4 separate regions of the Homo sapiens genome follow, and all the other regions are linked to region 1. The links are contacts of gene promoters, found by promoter capture Hi-C in human tissues and cell types (Jung and others, 2019). All regions are on one chromosome and are shown on one strand. Each heading gives the region's core, a stretch centred on a gene start or on the middle of the fragment in contact. The rest is flanking DNA. Distances are from core to core; before and after follow the strand shown.

Region 1 (2,700 bases), core at 152-2,651:
TATTTTCATGAGAGGGGAGGTGTGAGTCCTCATTGTTTTCGACTCATTAAAAATATTGCTTTGATTTTTTAAAAATACAAAAGTTATTTTTTTAAAAAGAAGAAAAGTCACAGAAGTTAAACTTTCTTTAAAGCGGGACTCTGGACTTTTGAAAACAAGTGTTGCTGTTACGAACAAAGACTAGAAGTGTACCCAGATTTTCTCCCCCCCGGGGATCATTTCTCTTCCAATCAACAAACAAATCCCCCAGTATTTCCTACCGAAAGGGAAGGGAAGTTTTCCAGGGAGAGTCTCCTCCTGGGTTTGGTGGTAACTGCGACTCAGTCTTTTTTGGACACAATGTTTCTGCTGACTCCTGAAAATTTTCCACTTGAATGTGCAATGAAGCGGCGGCGGCAGCGGCAGCAACAGTCCTGGAGAAGCGGCAAAGACGACCGTGCCCTTTTTCATCTTTGAGAAGAAGGAGCGAACCCCCCGCCAGCGGCACAAGTCTGCGCAGACCCGGGCCGGCCTCGGGGGTACCCGGCGCCGGGGGGCGGCGGCGAAAGCAGGGGGGTGCAGGCCGGCTCCGGGCTCCGAGGCGGCGGCTCTGCCCGCCCGCGCTCGCTCCGAACTTCTGGCTCCCCAGCGCACCCCGTCCAAGGCGCCCGAGGGTGTGTGCGTGTGTGCGCGTGCAGGCGGCGGGAGAGGGGGCGCGCGGGGGGCGCGGCGCGGCCGGCCGGGGGCCGCCTGTTGCCGCGCGGGCTCCCAGCGCGCGGCCCAACTTGGCGTCCTGGCAAGTCGCGCGGCGGCGCCCGGCCGCTCACCTCGGAGGGGGCGCGGGGAGGCGGGTGTGGGGGCCCGGCCGCGGCCCTCCGCGTGCCCGCCCGCCGTCGCACACAAAGCAGAGCCCGCAAAGAAAGAGCGGCCCGCGAGGGACGCGCCGCCGGCCCCCCGCTGCCCCGTGCGCCCCCCGCACCCCAGCATCCGCCCCGCGCGCCAACTTACCTCGGCCCAGGGAGCCACCGCAGCGCCCGGCGAGTCCGAGGCAAACTTCGGCGCCGCTTCCCCCGCCCTCTGCTCGGTGCCCGGCTCCCTCCCCGGCTCCCGGTCCCTGGGCCCGGCCACCCCACCCCTGCCTAGCACCGCTCCTGCCCCGGGGCCGGCTGGCGCGCTGGGCTGCTGCCCGCGCTCCGGGCAAAGGTGGAGGGGTGGGGGGGCGTCACTGCATGGCCTGTGCCTGGACGCGGCCGCCCCGGGCCCGGGCCCCGCCGCGCGGAATGGCCCGCAGGGTGGAAGCGAGTCTGCAAAGTGCTTGGTGGGCGCCCGCGGCGGGCGGCGGGGCCGCGGCGGCGGCAGCAGAGGCTCGGCTCGGCTCAGGCGGCGCGGCGCGGCGCGAGCGATGCTAAGAATGTTCGGAATGAGGACAGGAATGAAATGAACGCCAGGACCGAACTCGCTCCGGAGGGGTGGGGCCTCGGTGACGTCATGCGGCCTGCCGCCCGGGGCTGGAGGCGGGGCCTGCCGCCGCCGGTGACGTCATGGGGAATCGGGGCGGACCGGCGCGGCTGCTTCGCCGTTGGGGCGCGGGCTTTCGGCAGCTGGGCGGAGTCTCGCGCCCACGGGGGAGCGTGGCTCGCGCGGGAGCCGCCCTCCGTCTCCCGGCGCGGGCTCCGGGCTTTGTCCCGAGCCGGGGCGGGGCGGGGCGGGGCGGACGGGAGCTGCGCGGCTTGGAAGTCCCTGCGCTCGCGCGAAGAACTCTGGAAGCCTGGGTTTCTTCCAGGGGGCAGGCGCCGAGGCGGGAGTTGCGCGCGACGCGCCTACCGTGCCTCAGTTTCCCTAGTCCGGGACGCGGAAGCGCGGGTGACTGCGTTGAGTGCTCCCGGACTCGCGGAAGTCTGCAAGTGTAGGGTAGAGAAGTTGCCTTTCTGGTGATGCAGATTGTTGCTCTCGAGCGCGGTGGACGCCGTCTCCGGGCCAGATTCCCAGCCTGCCATTTCTTCTCTTCCCTTTCACTTTTATAAAAGTTCACAGCTCTCACTCAAGTCGAAATCTGTCTTACGGTTGGGAAAGGAAAACCTTTAGCTTAGCAAAGAAGGATAATTACAGAGTTCGTAATAAACCTGCCCTGCTAGCAAGGTCTTCTCCAAGTCAGTTAAAAAACTAAGTTCACTCATCTCTGCCGGTTGTACTTTTCAAAAGTAACTTCCTAAACTTTGAAATGCTGCATCCGGCGACTTTAAGTTAGCCCTTTCATTATTGAGAAACTTCATTTCATTATTAAAGGAATCATTTTAACCCTGCCATTGGAGGTAGTGACGCAAAAGTGACATAGACGCAGTCGGTAAATCAGAAAACGGGTAAAATCGACCCACTGGGGACAGAACCGTCTAAAGTTTCGGGTGATTGTTATAATTATTTAACAAACTGCAAAGCAGTTCCCGCACAGTGGACCTCATTCGTTCTAGGCACTTGGCTCTCTTTTCCAGCTGAGGCCTCAGGATTAAATAACAACATATTTTGTGCCCGAGGAATCCCTATATCCCTATATATGGGTAACTGAGGAGACTAGACTGTGACTGAGTGCAACACATTTCTACAAAACATAACTTTTACTAATACATTGTTTTCCTTTTTTTTAATTTTTTTTTTATTTTATTTTTGGAGACAGGATCTTGCTCTGTCACCTAGGCTAGAATGCAATGGTGCGATCTGGGCTCG
Region 2 (2,700 bases), core at 177-2,676, 35 kb after region 1:
TGTGGTGGTGGGGGGGATGTGGTGGGGGGGATGTGGTGGGGGGGATGTGGTGGGGGGGGATGTGGTGGTGGGGGGGATGTGGTGATGGGGGGGATGTGGTGGGTATGTGGTGGTGGTGGGGATGTTGTGGTGGGGGATATGGGGGGAATGTGGGAGTATGGTGGGGGGAGGTGGTGGGGGGGGTTATGTGGTGATGGGGGGATGGTGGTGGCTATTCTGGAAGTCTTACCCATAAAATAATCTTTAAAAAATGGAAATTTGCTCTGCAGCTATTCCTCCTCTCTAACTTAAAGCAATTTAATGATTCCCCATTGATTTTTAAAATGAAATCTAAAATTCCTATGCTGGCCAACCTATGTAATCTAAGCCTACATCTCCAGCCTCATTTTGAGCCAATTTCATTCTTAGTGTTCTCCCACTGGGAACAACAGTTCTCTCACAGTTCCTCAAACGTGGCAAACTCTGTTTTGCCTCAGGACCTACTCACTTCCTTTTCTTTACATGGCTCATTGCTACTCATTGTCCAGAATTCAGCTTTAGCATCAGTCTTCAGCAAAGCCCACTTTTTGCCTCTTGACTTGTATAGATCCAATGCTCCATTGAAACTGAGATCTTCCCTTTCCACACCTGTAATAATTTAATTATTTCAAGTTGTTTATTATTATTATTATTTTGGAGACAGGATCTTGCTCTGAGACCTGGGCAAGAGAGTGAGCAAGATGACAGCTCACTGCAGCCTTGACCTCTCAAGCTCAAGCGATCCTTCTACCTCAGCCTCCCTAGTAGCTGAAACCACAGGTGCAAGCCATGGTGCCCAACTAATTTTTAAATCATTTGTACACACTCCCTATGTTGATTAGGCTGGTCTTGAATTCCTGGGCTCAAGTGATCCTTCTGCCTCGGCCTCTCAAAGTGTTGGGATTACAGGCATGAGCCACTGTGCCCTGCCTTGTTTCTTATTTAATAACATCTACTTCCCTATTTGATTGTAAGCTCCCTGAGGGATAGTTTTCTATTGTGCATTTCCAAGGAGCTCAACAAAGACCTGACTGATAGCCTGATGGATCCACCATAGAGCCTTTACACAGGGTGAACAATGCCGGATTATCCTGCGGTATGAAGTGGGGAAGAACACAATGGTTGTTAGTAGTTATTTTTTATTTTTCTTCTCTTGAGAATTTATGCAATTATTCTAAAAAATTACGTTTTGGTCAAGGTGTATAGATTCTTTTGGATCTACATTTGGAGGTATATATAGTTTGGCTGCCCAGATCAGGCATCCTTAACTCACAGAGGCAGTGGTAGGTGTTGCTTCTGGTACCTCTGATGCCAATGGGGAAGGTCACTCTTCCCTCCCTTACCTAGATCTTTCTCTGAAATCAAATGAGACATCCTAGATGACAGGAACTTGTGAAGGCCAACACAGAATATGCTGACTCAGATCTCCTCCCTATCACCTCCTTTCTTTTGTCTCATGTAGAATTATGAAAATAATATCTGTCTTGTTTATTGGCACAAGTAGATACTTAATAAATTCCTCTTTTCTTTTCCAGTACACAGTTAATTGTTTTAGTTCAGTTACATACCTGTGAGCTTCTAAAGTTCCTTCCATTGTTTTCTAGCTCTTGTCTAGTTATCTCTGGAAAACTCCTCAATAACAATATCACAGCCCCCCAAATGGCCATACTCGTGCCTTCGGTGTGTAAATATTGCTGGTGTTAGACCTGTATTGAGGAAGAGAGAACAGGGCATTCAGAAGAGAAATCACATGTAATTTAATTGCATTACTCTCTGAGTACCTTGAGATGTCCACAAGTCCCTTTTAGAAGCCCTGCAGATATAGTCAACTAGTTTTTCCTTCTTTTCTAAATAAACCCAATATGTGGTTTTTGAATGAATGAATAAATGAACAATATCTGCTTATCCTCAAGGACCAGCAAAATAAGTAAAAATTTCCTTATTAACTTGTGTTGCTTTCCTGTTTTGTTTAATCGTCGCAACTGTGGCCACAGAATACCTCACAATATTCAGTGGCAAATGTACAGCATGTTAGCTTCAGTATGGATTTCTCTCTTTGCTGGATTTTCAGGGTATAGGGAGGATTCACCTCTATATGTACCATTGTTTCTGACTATGGGAAACAAGGTCTGTGTTCCAAGCAGATTGGATCATATAAAGTGGGATGTAACTACTCTGAATTTCAAAACTACCTACACAACACTCAGACATCAGAGAAGGGTAATTCTGGGGGGCTTTCTGACTTTTACTTGACCTTCCTGTTCTATTTACATTTTAAATTGTCCATTTAATGAAATGTAAAAACCAACTCCACTATTGTGAGTCTAGTTTTCTGTCACCCATGGTTCACATCGAACCTCAGTTATTTGAATCACATTGTCACAGTAATTAGCCCAGAGCATGAAATTACTAAATGAATGAGTGAATGAATGCCACACACAGTACAGTTGAAGGGGTTGGAAATTTCGTACTGGAGAATATTCAGATAAAACTTGATGGTTTCTTCAAATATTTGAAAGACAGTTTTTTGAAAGATTCAAAAGGTTCATGAGGCAGGACTAGGCAGAAGCAAGACCAATGCACAAAACTTTGTTCAGTCCGACAAACATAGCATGCCTACTGGGCACCATGTTTGCCCTGTGGGATATGGAATCGTTAAACAGTATAATCCTGCTCTGAGGC
Region 3 (2,700 bases), core at 168-2,667, 42 kb before region 1:
TTCCATTATTGGGTTACTGCAGGAAGATCGTGTATTAAGGCAAACACTACTTTGACATAACCTAATAACCACCCATCTCCCAGCATGCGGCAAGAATGAATGCTACAGGGCACACATGCAAACTTGATTCTCCATCCAGGAGTGATTTCTGTGGAGGTGTAATTCCACTGTCCACCTTACACAGCACATCTTCTATCCATAAAACACAAAGCTTCCATCAGTCAAGACACTCAGGAATGAAGGGCCCTGCCTCCTGACTCATGTTTCAGGTGTAGCTAGACCCTACCAGTGACAGAAATTCAAATCCAATTGATCCTTTCACTTAAAACACACAATACCAAGCACACACACAACTGTAGGCAGAAAGTAGCATACCAGAGGCATACAACTGCCCCACATTCAATTCTGCTGGCTACTTATTAGCCCCGAATCACTCTGGATATTATAGTCTATGATCAGTATAACTACATTCATTACATTCCATGGCCAGACTTGACTGTTTATGGCTCATCCTCTGAAGATCTACAAATCCATGCAGGAACCTTTCTCTGTACAGCAAACTATGGTATGTGAGTTGGTACCCACATTGTGGGCAGCTGAGAGGCCAAGCCCACTACTTCGGATCCCAGCTCAGTCAGTCACCTGGGAGCAGCAGAAGCTGTGACCTCAGGGCGGGAAGCCATTCAGCGCCTATGTCGGGAACGCAGAGCCAGGCTTCTGATCTGTAATGTTCTCTGCTGATGACTTAGAAGAGGGCTGGCAAACCATGGCTCACAGGCCAAATCTGGTCTGCCATCTGTTTTTGTATGGCCCATGAAGGAAGAATGGTTTTTACATTCCTTAATGGTTGAAAAACAAAGGAATAATAAACTACATGGAGTTCACATGTGTCCATAAATAAGATTTTACTGGAACATAGCCACATCCACTGGTTTTCATGTTGTCTATGGCTGCTTTCAAACCACAACAGCAGAGCTGAGAGGTGGTGGCAGAGACCAGGTGACCTGCAAAGTCAAAAATATTTGCTATCTGACCTATACCAGAAAAAGTTTTCTGACCCCTGACTAAGAAGCAAGTGCCAGGACACTGCTAAAAATGAGACCTCAAAAATCTAAACATTGTCTGGGGGGAAAATAAAAAGGATTACTTCTTGATCACAGGTTCAGGTCCAGGGATTCAGCAGCAATGACAGAGGTCCCTCAATGGAGGGGGGAGGGATGTCAGCAGAAAAAGGGTGCTCTCCAAGGGCTGCAGGAACCCCCCCGTGAACTCCTAGGAAGTCACACTCTCTGCTGCACTCCCTCGCAGACACCTACCTGTTCTAAGACAGATGAGGCTGGATTGGGGCACAGCGATTCTGCTTGTCCGGTGGTTCCAATGCAACAGAAAAGGAGGGCAGTGGAGAGAGTTGGCCGGAGTTTCCACCAGTGTTCAGACTGCTCCCCCTCCCATCCCTCGGCCGGAAGCCGACAGACAAAGAGCCCGCGCAGGACAGGAAGCCCATCCTAAGTCACCAGGCTATGACCTCTCTGTGAGGTCTGTTCATGCAAAGGGGGCAAATGACAGTCTCAGTCTTGGGGGGAAGGTGGGGAGGGTGAGCTAGGAAATGATTCCTTGGCCAAGATTTTTACTGTAAAAAAATGAATTACGATTGTTCTTGTTGGTCTTTCCCCCATCTTCCATCGCCACCTGTTAATCTGGGAACCCCTAGAGGTGAGATTGCTAGATTCGGGAAATAAAAATGGTATGCCCCCTTAAATGTGAATGTCAGAAAAATGACATTCAAATTAATTTATTAGTATAAATTTTTCCCAAATATTGCTTACCTGAAATTTGAATCATGGGACATACACTGATTATCTGATATTCAAATTTAACTGGGCATCTTTTTTTTAATCTGATAAGCCCATCTACAACCCAAATCATTCAGGAAGTGACTCCCTGATCCCAACCCCTTCTGGCAAAGCCCCTGCAAGGTAGGTCTCCATGCCAGTAGGCCTGTCTCCAGCAGCCCCGTCTGCATCACGTGCAGCTCCCCAGAGAGACAGCCAGCCTGCTGCGGCTTCCAGAAACAAGCTTCCCCAGGAGCAGAACACCTGGGCCCCCCACCCAGGTGAAACGAAGGCAACCAGCCCTTGGCTAAAGAAAACTGCCCACAGCCTCTCCTTGCCCAGCCATCACCCGAGACCCATACCCTCTCCTCCTCCCCAGTCCCCAGGCTTTATCTGTTTCTCAGATCCCTCAAGGAGTCCTGCTCAACTAGAAAGGATCTCCTGTCCCTGATGCCTGTTCTGCTGGTTACACTGGGTCACGAGGCTTTTCCATCCCTGGGTTTTGTCTCTGGTGAAGGAATGGTCTCAGGGCATGGAATTTACAGGAATAAGGAATTTGGAGGAGAGGAGGGTGCTAAAATCATACTAAGTTAGATGGGTCCCAAACAGAAACTGGAAGCGGTGACTGAAGACCACTAAACTCCCCGACCCCATGGTATGCTCCATAAGGGTAGAGATTTTTGTGTTTTATTCATAGCTACATTCCTAGAGGGCAGTGCCTGACACATACTGACACTTGGTAGAGAACTGCGGAATTGTTATGGGCTGAATTGTGTCTCCCCCTCAAAAAAATCGTATGTTGAACCCCTAATCCCAAGTACCTCAGGATGTGACAGCATTTGGAGACATGGCCTTTTAAAGAGGTGAT
Region 4 (2,700 bases), core at 46-2,545, 51 kb after region 1:
TCATTTATTTCCTTCTTTTATTTTCCTTAACAATGTTTTGTACTTTTCAGTGTACAAGACTTCTTTTTTAAAATTTATTCCTAAGTATGCTATCTATGAATAGAAGTAGTTCTACTTCTTTCTTTTAAATCTGATGATTTTTTATTTCTTTTTCTTGCCTAGTGCCTTGACTAGATTCTCCACTACAATGCTGATTAGATAGAAGGGATGAGATAGACATTCTGGTCTTTTTCCTGACCTTAGGGGCAAAGCTATCAGCTTTCACCATTAAGTATGATGATAGTTGTGGGTTTTTCTTAAATGCTCTTTATCAGATCAAAGAAATTCCCTTCTATTCCTGCCTTCTTCAGTGTTCTTATGAAAGGTTGTTAGATTTTGTCAACGCTTTCTCTGCATCTATTGGCAAAGTAATGTGGATTTGTCCTTTAATCTATTAATGTGATTTAGTACATTGATTTTTTTTCATGAGCTGAACCAACCTTGCATTCCTGGGATTAATCACACTTTGTCATGGTGTATGATCCTTTTTATATGCTGCTGGATTTGGTTTGCTAGTATCTTGTTGAAGATATTTGTATATATATTCATAAGGGATATAGCTTTCTGTAGTTTTCTTGTGAGTTGTCTGGCTTTGGTATCAGGGTAATTCTGGCTCCAAATAATGAGTTAGGAAGTGTTTCCTTCTGTTACTGATGAATTGCCTATGAATACCTTCAAATGTGTCAAGTTCTGCTGCATGCATTTCTGGGCTCTGTTGTTAAGTACATATATGCTTATAATTGTTTTGATGGAGTGACCCTTTTATCATTATAAAATGTCCTTTTTTTCTCCAGTAACAATTTTTAACTTAGTCTCTTTTGTCTATACTGCAACCACTCCAGCTCTTTTGTTTACTGTTTTCATGGTACACATATTTCCATCCTTTAAACCTATTTGTGACTTTGATTCTAAAATGTACCTTTTGTAGACAACATACATTTGAATCATGCACCCTCCCATCATAATTCTAGTCTTTGTCTTTTAATTAGAGTGTTTAATCAGTTTGTATTTAATATAATAACTGGTAAGATTTACATCTGCCATTTGTTACTTGTTTTCTATATGTATTATGTCTTCTTTGTTTCTTCATTCATTCCCCCATTACTGCCTTCTTTTGTGTAAAATGGATATTACTTAGTGGGCCATTTTAGTTGACCATTTTACTTTTTTTTTTTTAGTGGTTACCCTGGGTGTTACAATTAACATCTTTTTTTTTTTTTTTTTTTTTTTGAGACGGAGTCTCACTCTGTCCCCCAGGTTGGAGTGCAATGGCACAATCTCAACTCACTGCAAGCTCCACCTCCTGGGCTCATGCTGTTCTCCTGCCTCAGCCTCCTGAGTAGCTGGGACTACAGGCACACACCACCATGCCCGGCTAATTTTTTTGTATTTTTAGTAGAGTTGGGGTTTCACCATGTTAGCCAGGATGGTCTCGATCTCCTGACCTCATGATCTGCCTGCCTCGGCCTCCCAAAGTGCTGGGATTACAGGCATGAGCCACAGAGCCCAGCCACAATTAACATCTTATAACAATCTAATTTGCATTAATACAAAGTTGATTACAACAATATATAAAACTTTCCTCTTATATAGCTCTAGTATCTACCCTCTTATTTGTGCTGTTATTTTCATATAAATTACCTCATTATACATTGCATGGTCTGATACATGACTGGTATACAGATTCATAATTATTGCTTTATGTAGTTGTCTCTTAAATAATATAGTAGAAAACAGTTATAAATAAAAGATATATTTACATTGTCTTTTATATTTAGTTTTTACCAGAGACTTATATTTCTTTATGTGGACTCAAGTTATTGTCTAGGGTCCTTTCATTTAGGCAGGAAGAACTCCATTCTCTGTTTTTGTTTATATTGGAATGACCTAATTTCTCTTTCATTTTTAAAGGACAGTTTTGCTAGATACAGAGCTTTTGAGTCTTTCAGGTCTTTGAATATGCCATCCACTGCCTCCCAGATTCCATAGTTCCTGATGAGAAATAAGTTAATCTTAATGAAGACCACTTGTGCTGTATTGCTTCTCTCTCGCTGTTTTTAAGATTCTCTGTTTGTCTTTCGACAGTTTGATTATGATGTTTCTACGTATGAAACTCTTTGAGTTTACCCTATTGGAATTTGTTGAGCTTCTTGGAGGTGTAGATTCACGTTTTTTAAAATCAAATTTGGGAAGTTTTTGCCCATAGTTTCTTCAAATATTATTTTTCCCCTTTCTTTCCTCTCTTTCTGGGACTCTCATGAATATATTGATACACTTGATTGTGTCCCATAGGTCTCTGAGGCTCTTTTTCTTCTTTTTTTTTGTTCCTCGGTCTGAATAGATAGTCAAGTGCATAAAAATGACAGAATGGGAGTGAAACAACCTAGAGGTTTGTTAAAATTGTTTGTGAAATTGTTGTTTCATTGTTTGTGAAAATTCTTCCTCTAGTGAATGTGTCCACAGACAGGCAAGGCCCTCATAATGCCTGCTTTGAACATGGTGGGTTCAAAGCAAACAGATGCAGAAACAGTTCACTCTTTCTTCACTTTCCCTGAGACATCTCCTTAAATTCCTTTTCTCCCTAGGACCTAAGGGACTCAGCATCTCTATTTTCAGCTTGATCCTTTCTCTTGAACCATAGGCTTTTGTGTCCAACAGCTG

What was found. The method cuts DNA at HindIII sites, captures the fragments that hold promoters and counts their contacts. A contact is called where the count stands out against the background at its distance.
Region 2: a contact is called between a fragment that was not itself captured here and the fragment with the promoter of TEAD1 in region 1, in 2 of the 25 tissues and cell types used here (bladder and liver).
Region 3: a fragment that was not itself captured here is called in contact with the fragment with the promoter of TEAD1 in region 1 in 16 of the 25 tissues and cell types used here (H1 embryonic stem cells, IMR-90 fibroblasts, bladder and 13 more).
Region 4: a contact is called between a fragment that was not itself captured here and the fragment with the promoter of TEAD1 in region 1, in 2 of the 25 tissues and cell types used here (neural progenitor cells and thymus).

The regions. Positions count from the first base shown.
Region 1 is chr11:12,673,122-12,675,821 of GRCh38, reverse strand. It overlaps TEAD1 (TEA domain transcription factor 1), which reads right to left and starts at 1,401. Exons shown (of 13, transcript NM_021961.6): 1 at 988-1,401; 2 at 261-413. RefSeq lists an enhancer at 1-574 and a silencer at 1,410-1,709. The HindIII fragment of the contact is 23,361 bases long and covers 1-2,700 here.
Region 2 is chr11:12,638,325-12,641,024 of GRCh38, reverse strand. LOC105376556 (a long non-coding RNA gene) reads right to left here. Exons shown (of 5, transcript XR_931039.2): 3 at 1,587-1,724; 4 at 488-627. Among named protein-coding and RNA genes, the nearest start is that of TEAD1, 35 kb to the left of the region's middle. The HindIII fragment of the contact is 5,333 bases long and covers 1-2,700 here.
Region 3 is chr11:12,714,900-12,717,599 of GRCh38, reverse strand. All of the region lies in intron 2 of TEAD1 (TEA domain transcription factor 1), which reads right to left. Among named protein-coding and RNA genes, the nearest start is that of TEAD1, 42 kb to the right of the region's middle. RefSeq lists an enhancer at 1,749-2,589. The HindIII fragment of the contact is 6,546 bases long and covers 1-2,700 here.
Region 4 is chr11:12,621,835-12,624,534 of GRCh38, reverse strand. The region is part of intron 1 of LOC105376556 (a long non-coding RNA gene); the gene reads right to left. Among named protein-coding and RNA genes, the nearest start is that of TEAD1, 51 kb to the left of the region's middle. The HindIII fragment of the contact is 6,544 bases long and covers 1-2,700 here.